2 separate regions of the Homo sapiens genome follow, and region 2 is linked to region 1. Evidence: promoter capture Hi-C in human tissues and cell types (Jung and others, 2019). All regions are on one chromosome and are shown on one strand. The core of a region is centred on a gene start or on the middle of the fragment in contact, and the rest is flanking DNA. Distances in the headings are between cores, read along the strand shown.

The links. Contacts are between HindIII fragments. The study calls those that stand out against the background at their distance.
Region 2: a contact is called between a fragment that was not itself captured here and the fragment with the promoter of CDC45 in region 1, in 1 of the 25 tissues and cell types used here (lymphoblastoid cells).

Annotation. Positions count from the first base shown.
Region 1 is chr22:19,477,263-19,482,210 of GRCh38, reverse strand. CDC45 (cell division cycle 45) reads right to left here and starts at 2,291. Exons shown (of 19, transcript NM_003504.5): 1 at 2,192-2,291; 2 at 1,994-2,053; 3 at 1,166-1,258. The coding sequence starts at 2,242. UFD1 (ubiquitin recognition factor in ER associated degradation 1) reads left to right here and starts at 3,018. Exons shown (of 12, transcript NM_005659.7): 1 at 3,018-3,128. The coding sequence starts at 3,126. RefSeq lists silencers at 2,342-2,391, 3,182-3,251 and an enhancer at 2,482-2,781. The HindIII fragment of the contact is 17,956 bases long and covers 1-4,948 here.
Region 2 is chr22:20,045,603-20,050,387 of GRCh38, reverse strand. The region is part of intron 3 of TANGO2 (transport and golgi organization 2 homolog); the gene reads right to left. Among named protein-coding and RNA genes, the nearest start is that of MIR185, 15 kb to the right of the region's middle. The HindIII fragment of the contact is 7,778 bases long and covers 1-4,785 here.

The sequences.
Region 1 (4,948 bases), core at 1,042-3,541:
CATAATAACAGGAACATCAGGAGAGGATTTGTCTCTGCCAAAACAATCCTAGATATGGCTAGGGACTCCAGGGACCCTCTTCCATGTCCCATCCCCTCTCTGTGGGGTGTACAATGTCCCATCTCTCATTTGGCCCCATGCAGAGGTGGGAGGAATCCTGGCATCTATTGTTTAAATTTATTCCTGGATTTTAAGTTGGAAACCAGGATGCATTTTCTCAGAGAAATAACATAAAATAGTAGTGTATTCTAAAATAATTTTAACTAATTCCAGCACTTTGGGAGGCTGAGGCAGGCGGATCACTTGAGGTCAGGAGTTCGAGACCAGCCTGGCCAATGTGGCGAAACCCCGTCTCTACTAGAAATACAAAAATTAGCCAGGCGTGGTGGTGGGCACTTGTAATCCCAGCTAGTTAGGAGGCTGAGGCAGGAGAATCGCTTGAACCCAGAAGGCGGAGGTTGCAGTGAGCCAAGATTGCACCATGACACTCCAGCCTGAGTGACAAAGCGAGGTTCCGTCTCAAAAATAAATAAATAAAGGCTGGGCGTGGTGGCTCATACCTGTAATCCCAGCACTTTCGGAGGTGGGCAGATCACAAAGTCAGGAGATCAAGACCATCCTGACTAACATGGTGAAACTCCGTCTCTACTAAAAATACAAAAACATTAGCCAGGTGTGGTGGCGGGTGCCTGTAGTCCCAGCTACTCAGGAGGCTGAGGCAGAAGAATGGCATGAACCCAGGAGACACAGCTTGCAGTGAGCCGAGATCGTGCCACTGCACTCCAGCCTGGGCGACACAGCGAGACTCCGTTTCAAAAAAAATAAAAAATAAAAAAATAAACCAAAATAAAATAAAATAATTTTAACTAGACCATATTAAAAACTGCTAGATTCCAAGCACCTTACAATCAAATTTCTGCAAAACAAGTTAAAACAAGTTCAAAGTTGGGGCTATCCACATTCATTATCTTTTTTTGCTGTCAATTTTGCTTCTACAACTTGGGCGTGGTAAGTCACCAGTAAATACAGCATGTTTTTCTCTTCCATATTGCCTAATGTAGCTGATACTTAAATACACGCTTAATCTATCGTGGAAATAGAATGCTGTGTCAAGAAATTACAATTGAGTAAAAAGCCACGTTATTCTAAAACGCATCTTCAATACCTGTTCTTTATGCTCAAGAAATGCAGTTTCAAGTTCTTGCCACCCAGAAACTGGAACCAGCGTATATTGCACGTGGTCACACTGGAACAAGGCCTGGAGAGAGAGTGTTTTCAAAGCCTATCTTATTTAGGACATTAGCAATTTACCTTGAAAAGAAACTGAGGAAGATTAGACGGGTTGAGAGACAAAAGACACGGGATAACATTAAAGCTAGTGAAATGCTTACGGGAAAAGCTAGGTGCTAGGGATATGAGCGTTTACCATACCATTCTGTGAATTTTGCAAATTACCAAAGTAAAACATCGGGGAGAAATGCCGATTTAACTTCCAGGCCTTCTGAAAAGTTCCTGATCCAAGGGCCTGACCAAAACAACGTAAATACTATGCCCTATTCAAAACCAAACTAACGATCTTCCCTAATAGACTAGGGGCTCCCATATTCCCAGCAACACCTGTGACACGACTATACCCACAGTTGTCACAGATTCCTCTCTCTCAAATCCCCCATTTGAGAGGCCACGACAGATCCAAAGTTTCCCCCAAATGCAACTGCTGTGTTCACCTATTAATATTAATAGCTTATTGCAAAAATACAAACTAGTCTCTTTACCTTTTACTTAATCCTTTATCCCACCCCACACCGTTGGGACAGGGAGGCAACCTCTCCTCCGAGTCTCTCTCCTCTCACTTGCTGTTCACCTCCTGCCCTGCTCCCTCTCCCACCCTAAGCCCTCAGCACCCATCCTGACACTCTGCCCGCCCTGCGCCCCCACGCAGCACCCTCACCTCGCGCGCCGGCCCCGCCCTCCTAGGGTCCGCAGAACTCACCTGAAGGATCTTGCACGCACACAGAGCATCCACGTCCGAGGCCACGAAGAGAAGGACCCTCTATCGGGGAAGAGCAGACCGGCTGAACACGGCGACCCGAACCCCGGCCCTCCCCTGCCTCCCGGTCACCCACGGTCGCTCCCCCTCATCCCTTCCCCACCGGCAAGGCCTCGGCGGGGGTCCCGGACTGGGCGTCACCTGGCTCTGGACCACCTCGTAGAACTCTTTGCGGAAATCGGACACGAACATAGCCACGGCGGCCGGACGCCTGGCGCTCGCGCTGAGGTACCAAGAGCCCGGCGGCGGTCAAGACTCCCGCCAAATCACGGCTCCTCCGATTGGTCCAGGGATCACCAACCAATAGCTTCTTAGTTCCCAGCCTTCCTTTCTTTCTGATTGGGCCACATTGGAGGCGGCCATTAGCGCTCTGCCATTCACGGCCAGAAAACTCCAGCCCGCCCCCAAAGAAGCGTCACCTCTGAGGCCGAACGCAAACACTGTTGCCCCCTTCAACTCTGACTCGCTTTTACCCAGAAAAGCGACGCTGGGCGGACATCTTTACTTTGGGAAGAGAAGCCTACTGCCTCCCACTGGGAACCCTCAGGGAAAGTATACTTCTAACCATACATTAAACTCAGTCACATACCCAATGGGGCAGCATTTACGTTTGCAATAGGTTTTTGGTGTGGTTTGAAGAAGGATTTGTAGCTTAGTTCCGCCCGAGTCCTCGATGGCTGAAGCAGAGGCAGTCTGGGTAGTGCATTGTGGGTAGTGTAGTCGTAAGGACAATGGGCCCTACTAAATTCGTCTGGAGGGGAATACTGTCAACACGTAATTTAAAATAACGTTTAAAAATACCTATAAAAGGGGAAATAAATCACGAAAGGGCATTTTAATGCTTCTACTGAGGGTGTTTTAGAGCCTAGCGTCTTCGCCTGGCCTTTTCTCTTTTGCAGCCGACGCTTTGTCCCGGGCACCCCCCCTCCGGGTCTCGGGTCCGGCACTTCCGGTGAGCCTCTGGGGCGTACCGGCTTGGCGCGGCGGCAGCGGCAGCGGCGGCTGGGAGAGCGGTCGGCGGGGTTTCTTCGTTGCATTGCCTGAGAGGAGCGGAGTCTGCCAGGTGGTGTCCATCATGGTAAGCGCTGACGGGCAGCGGGCGGGGGCTGGGCCTTGGCCCGGGGCCTGAGGTAGGGCCCGGCGGGGCAGGGCGGGGCGGGACGGCGGCGGAGGTGCCGAGTCACCCGGGCCTGAGTCCGGCCTGCAGGCTCATCGGCCGCACCGGGCACAAGCAGGACCCTTGACCACTAACCGCCTGTGGTCGCGTCCGCCGGTCCTGAACGTGGCTCGCATTCTGTCTCAGCCGGACTTGCCCTCCTTGACGAAAGAAAGGAAGGTTTGTGTCCATTCACGGGTTTCCCAAGTGCTGGACGCGCAACAGGTTTCCATAAACCCAAAGTTAGTTGCAAGGTTGCTGGGGATGGGAACAGAATCAGGGCGCTCCCCAGGGAGAATCCGTAGTGGGCATCCCCCGCTCTTGGGGGACACCCAGCTCTTGCCCCAGCTCCGTGAGCTCCGTGCCTACGGGTTCGTGCCTTCGAATCTGTACAGCGGTGTTGTGTTCGGTAATGATAACGATGGAAGCTAATACCTGCTGGTACATTTCCTGTTACACAGCTTTTAACACCTGTACTCCCTCATCGCGGCTTATTTCTTTTAATCCCTACAATCCCTTTGGAAGCAAGGATGATGATGATTTTAAACATGAGAAAACTAACGTTTACAGAGGTACTTTATTCGAGTCACAGAAGTAGGGACTGGAGAGTTGAAGCCAAGTCTGTCTGGCTGCAAAGCACTCTACGGTATTGTCTTCCTGTCACCTGTTTATTTTAGTAAAGACAAGGAATGATTGTTAGATTTTATCCCAAGTGTGTCACTGTCAAACCCTGGCTTATTTCTATTCTTGAGTTCATCCACTCAAGAATACCTGATATGTTCCAGGCAGTGTGCTAGGTCTCGGGATTGAAAAGGAAAGTGAGAGATGGGATCGGGAGCAGCAAAGAAGGGGCAGAAGGTCGGGTTCATGGGTAAACTGCAGGCAGGTTGTTAAGTATGTTGCCCCTTTGTGCGGATTTACCTTTTATATTCAAAGAGAAGAAATGGCTTACATAGGTTGGCTAGTGAGAAGCACTCAAGGGAAGCAAGCCCCTACCCTGTTCTGGCCTTGTTCACCCAGAAACGCTATTTCCTGTGTTATGGTTCTGGCCAAGATTTAGCTGAACAGTTATGCTGCTTAAAAGAAGAAAGACAAAAGATTGGAAATTACTGTGTTAGAGTGCCAGGGAGTAAAGAACCATCCCAGATTTTAGGCGGGAACATGCTATGTTTGCATTTTGGGAGATGGCTAATTCAGCTTGCTAATTTTGGAGTTGCTAGTAAACTGCTTTGTCAGTAGGTGGCATTCCTTCTACTAAATATATATTTGGAATCAAGTCAAGAAATTTTCTCTAATACAGATTTTTTTTTAGTTGTGGTTAAAAAAACCAAATTTTTATCATCTTAACCGTTTTTCAGTCTATAGTTCAATAGTGTTGAGTACATTCACGAGCAACAGATTTTCAGAACTTTTTCATCTTGCAAAAGTGAAACTCTACTCACATTAAACAATAGCTCTCCATTTTCTGCTCCTCACAGCCCCTGTCAATCTCTGTTCCACTTTGTCTCCATGAATTTGCCTACTCTAGGTACTTCCTAGAAGCGGACTCATAAAATATAAGTCCTTTTATGACTGACTTACTTCACTTGGCATGATATCCTCAAGGTTCATCCATGTGACAGGATTTCTTTCCTTTTAAAAGCTGAATAATATTTCATTGTATGTATATACCATACCACAATTTGTTTATTCATTCATCTGTCATTGGACACTTGAGTTGCTTCCACCTTTTAGCTATTATG
Region 2 (4,785 bases), core at 1,225-3,724, 570 kb before region 1:
CGTCTCAAAAAAAAAAAAAAAAAAAAAAACCACCAGGAAAATATTTAATGAAAAATGAGTGACAAAGACTGAAAACTCCAGGGCACTGTTGAGGGTCTCAAGTTGAGCTGACCTGATTTAAGGAGAGACATGCATATTCACTGAAAGATTCAATAGTGTTTTTTTGTTTGTTTTTGTTTTTTAGAGTCTTGCTCTGTCGCCTAGGCTGGAGTGCAGTGGTGTGATCTCAGTTCACTGCAAGCTCCGCCTCCCGGGTTCAGGCCATTCTCCTGCCTCAGCCTCCCAAGTAGCTGGGACTACAGGTGCCCACCACCACACCTAGCTAATTTTTTCATATTTTTTTAGTAGAGACAGGGTTTCACCGTGTTAGCCAAGATGGTCTCGGTCTCCTGATCTCATGATCGGCCCGCCTCGGCCTTCCAAAGTGCTGGAATTACAGGCGTGAGCCACCGTGCCCAGCCTCAACAGTGTTTCTTCTTGTTATTATTTGTTTCACTGGGTACTTCTTAGACAACTCAGTATTGTTAAGGTGACACTTCTCCCCACATGACCCATAGATTCAAAACCTGCCCAGTCAAAATCCCAGGGGGCTTTTCGTTTTATAGCAATTAACAGACTGGCTGAAATATCTATGCATATGCAAAGGAACTGGGATGGCCAAAATAGTCCCGAAAAAGAAGGCAGACCCACATTGCCTGATTTCTTTTTTCTTTTTTTTTTTTTTTTTGAGACAGAGTTTCGCTCTTGTTACCCAGGCTGGAGTGCAATGGCGTGATCTCAGCTCACCGCAACCTCCGCCTCCCGGGTTCAAGTGATTCTCCTGCCTCAGCCTCCCGAGTAGCTGGGATTACAGGCATGGACCACCACACCCAGCTAATTTTGTATTTTTAGTAGAGACGGGGTTTCTCCATGTTGGTCAGGCTGGTCTTGAACTCCCAACCTCAGGTGATCTGCCCACCTCGGTCTCCCAAAGTGCTGGGATTACAGGTGTGAGCCACAGTGCTCAGCCTGATTTCAAGACTTACTAAAAAGCAGCAGCACTCATAGACTGCATGGTGTTGGCATCAAGACAGATACATAGATCAATGGGATACAACAGAGTCAGGAATAGACCCACACATATATGTTCAACTGATGTACAACCAAGTTGCCATAGTAATGAACTAGGCAAAAGATAATCCATTTAATAAATGATGCTGGAACAACTAGAGAGATTTGGGGGTTGGAGGCAGTAAATCTCAACCCCTACCTCACACCATGTACAAAACCTTGAGATAAATCATAGACCAAACATAAAAACAAAAATTAGGCTTCTAGAAGCAAATGGAGGAAAATATTGTTATATATTTTCCTCTGGGTAGGCAAAGACTTTTTGGATAAGGCACAAAAAGAACAACTCATAAAAGATAAGATAAACTGTACTTTGTTAAAATGAAATATTCTGGCCGGGCGCAGTGGCTCACGCCTGTAATCCTACCACTTTGGGAGGCCAAGGCAGGCAGATCAAGAGGTCAAGAGATTGAGCCCATCCTGGCCAACATGGTGAAACCCCATCTCTACTAAAAATACAAAAATTAGCTGGGCATGGTGGTGCATGCTTGTAGTCCCAGCTACTCAGGAGGCTGAGGCAGAAGAATCACTTGAACCTGGGAGGCGGAGGTTGCAGTGAGCTGAGATCGCACCACTGTACTCCAGCCTGGCAACAGAGTAAGACTCCACCCACTCAAAAGAAAAAAAAAAAATTCTGCTCACCATAAGCTATCATTAAGGAAATGAGTAGGCACAAAGGACTCATATCCAGAATGGGTAAATAACTCTTACAAATCAATAATTAAAACAAGAACAAAACTTCCAAATTGCCCAAGCAACAAGGACCAGATTTACCCTCCTGCATAAAACAACCAAAAAATAAATAAATAAATAAAACTCAAGAAACAATGGTGTATTTATTAGTCCATTCTCATGCTGCTACAAGGACATACCCGAGACTGGGTAATTTATAAAGGAAAGATATGTGACTCATAGTTCAGCATGGCTGGGGAGGCCTCAGGAAACTTACAATCATGGCAGAAGGGGAAGCAAACATGTCCTTCTTCACATGGTGGCAGGAAGGAGAAGTTCCAAGCAAAGCAGGAAAAGCCCCTTATAAAACCATCAGATCTTGGCTGGGAGCGGCAGCTCATGCCTGTAATGTCAGCACTTCGGAAGGCCGAGGCAGGCGGATCACCTGAGGTCAGGAGTTCGAGACCAGCCTGGCCAACATGGTGAAACCCCATCTCTACTAAAAATACAAAAATTAGCTGGGCGTGGTGGCAAGCGGCTGTAATTCCAGCTACTCAGGAGGCTGAGGCAGGAGAATTGCTTGAACCTGGGAGGTGGAGGTTGCAGTGAGCCGAGATCGCACCATTGCACTCCAGCCTGGGTAACAAGAGCGAAACTCAGTCTCAAAAAAAAAAAAACAAAACACTATCAGATCTCATGAGAACTCACTATCATGAGAATAGCAGCATGGGGGTAATGCCCCATGATTCAATTACCTCCCACTGGGTCTCTCCCAGGACATGTGGGGATTTGGGGAACTATAATTCAAGATGAGATTTGGGTGGAGACACAGCCAAACCATATCAAATGGGTTTTACAAAAAAGGATATGACAGACAGGAAACAAAGTGAGCCCATGATTAGAGAGGCTCCAGGACCCAGCCCAGGGAGTGGGGGGACCAGGCCGAATTCAGCAGACTCCCTGAGCTGAGAAGAGGGGCTTAGTGTTTGGGGAAACTAAGACAACCAGAGTTCATGGCTGCCATAGTTTGGATGTTTGTCCCCCAGACCTCATGTTAAAATCTGATCCCCGGGCTGGGTGAGGTGGCTCACGCCTCTAATCTCAGCATTTTGGGAGGCTGAGGCGGGTGGATTGCCTGAGGTCAAGAGTTCGAGACCAGCCTGACCAACATGGTGAAACCCCGTCTCTACTAAAAACACAAAAAATTAGCTGGGCATGGTGGCAGGCGCCTGTAATCCCAGCTACTCAGGAGGCTGAGGCAGGAGAATTGCTTGAACCTTGGAGGCGGAGCTTGTGGTGAGCCGAGATCGTGCCATTGCACTCCAGCCTGGGCAACAAGAGTGAAACTCTGTCTCAAAAAAAAAAAAAAAAAACAAACAAACCAAAAAACTGATCCCCAGTGTTGGAGGTGGGGTCTAATGGGAGACAGATCTACCTAATGGCAGATCCTTCATGAACGGCTTGGTGTTGTCCTCACAGTGATGAGTTCTAGCTCTATTAGTTCCTTTGAGAACTGGTTGTTTAAAAGAGCGTGGCGCCTCCTCCCTCTCTCTGGCTTCCTCCCTCCGTGTGTGATCTGCACATACCACCTCCCCTTCCCCTTCCACCATCAGTAGAAGCTTCCTGAGGCCTGCATCAGAAGCAGATGCTGACACTGTGCTTCAGGTCCCCTGTAGAACTCTAAGCCAAATAAACCTCTTTTCTTTATAAATTACCCAGCCTTGTGGATCACTTGAGGTCAGGAGTTTGAGACCAGCCCAGCCAACCTGGTGAAACCCCATCTCTACTAAAAATACAAAAATTGGGCTGGGGGAAGGATAGCGTTAGGAGAAATACCCAATGTAAATGATGAGTTGATGGGTGCAGCAAACCAACATGGCACATGTATGTATACCTATGTAACAAACCTGCACGTTCTGCACATGTACCCTAGAACTTAAAGAATAATAATAAAAAAATACAAAAATACAAAAATTAGCAGGGTGTGGTGGCAGGTGCCTGTAATCCCAGCTACTCAGGAGGCTGAGGCAGGAGAATCACTTGAACCTGGGAGGTGGAGGTTGCAGTGAGCCAAGGTCGCACCATTGCACTCCAGCCTAAGCGACAGAGCAAGACTCTGTCTCAAAAAAAAAAAAAAAAAAAAAATTACCCAGCCTTGGCTGGGCACCATGGCTTATTATCTGTAATCCCAGCACTTTCGGAGGCCAAGAAAGGAGGGTCACTTCAGGCCAGGACTTTGAAACCAGCTTGTGCAACACAGCAAGGCTTTGTCGCTACAAATTATTTTTAAAAATTAGCTGGGCATGGTGATGTGCACTTGTAGTCCCAGCTACTAGGGAGGCTGAGGTGGGAGGATCACTTGAGGCCAGGAGTTAGAGGCTGCAGTGAGACAGGATTGTGCCACTGCACTCCAGCCTGGGCAACAGAGTGAGACCCTATCTCAAAAAAAAAGAAAAAAATTACCCAGACTCAGCTTTTTCCTTTAGAGCAACACAAACGAACTAAGACAGTGGCACAAAAGTCCAGAGAGGAAGGAGCTACACAGAGAATGTCTGATCAGCATCTCAGGGAGGAGACTATATGACACTGGGGCAAGAACCACCAGTGCTCACACAGGGCAGGGAGTAGGGCTGGCTCCCAGACACCAGGCTGGAAAACCTCAAGATCTAGGGGCACCGAGAAAAGTACGCAGAGAGCATCGCAGAGGTGTGGGACAAGGGCAAGTGAACTAATATATGTGTGTAACTGGAGAGAAGGAGAGAGTGAGAGAGAAGACAGAAAAACTACTTGAAAAAGTAATGGCCGCTGGGTGCAATGGCTCATGCTTCTAATCCCAGCACTTTGGGAGGACAAGGCGGGCGGATCACCTGAGGTCGGGAGTTCAAGGCCAGCCTGACCAACATGGAGAAACCCCATCTCTACTAAAAATACAAAATTAGCCTGGTGTGGTGGTGCATGCCTGTAATCCCAGCTATTAGGAAGGCTGAAGCAGGAGAACAGCTT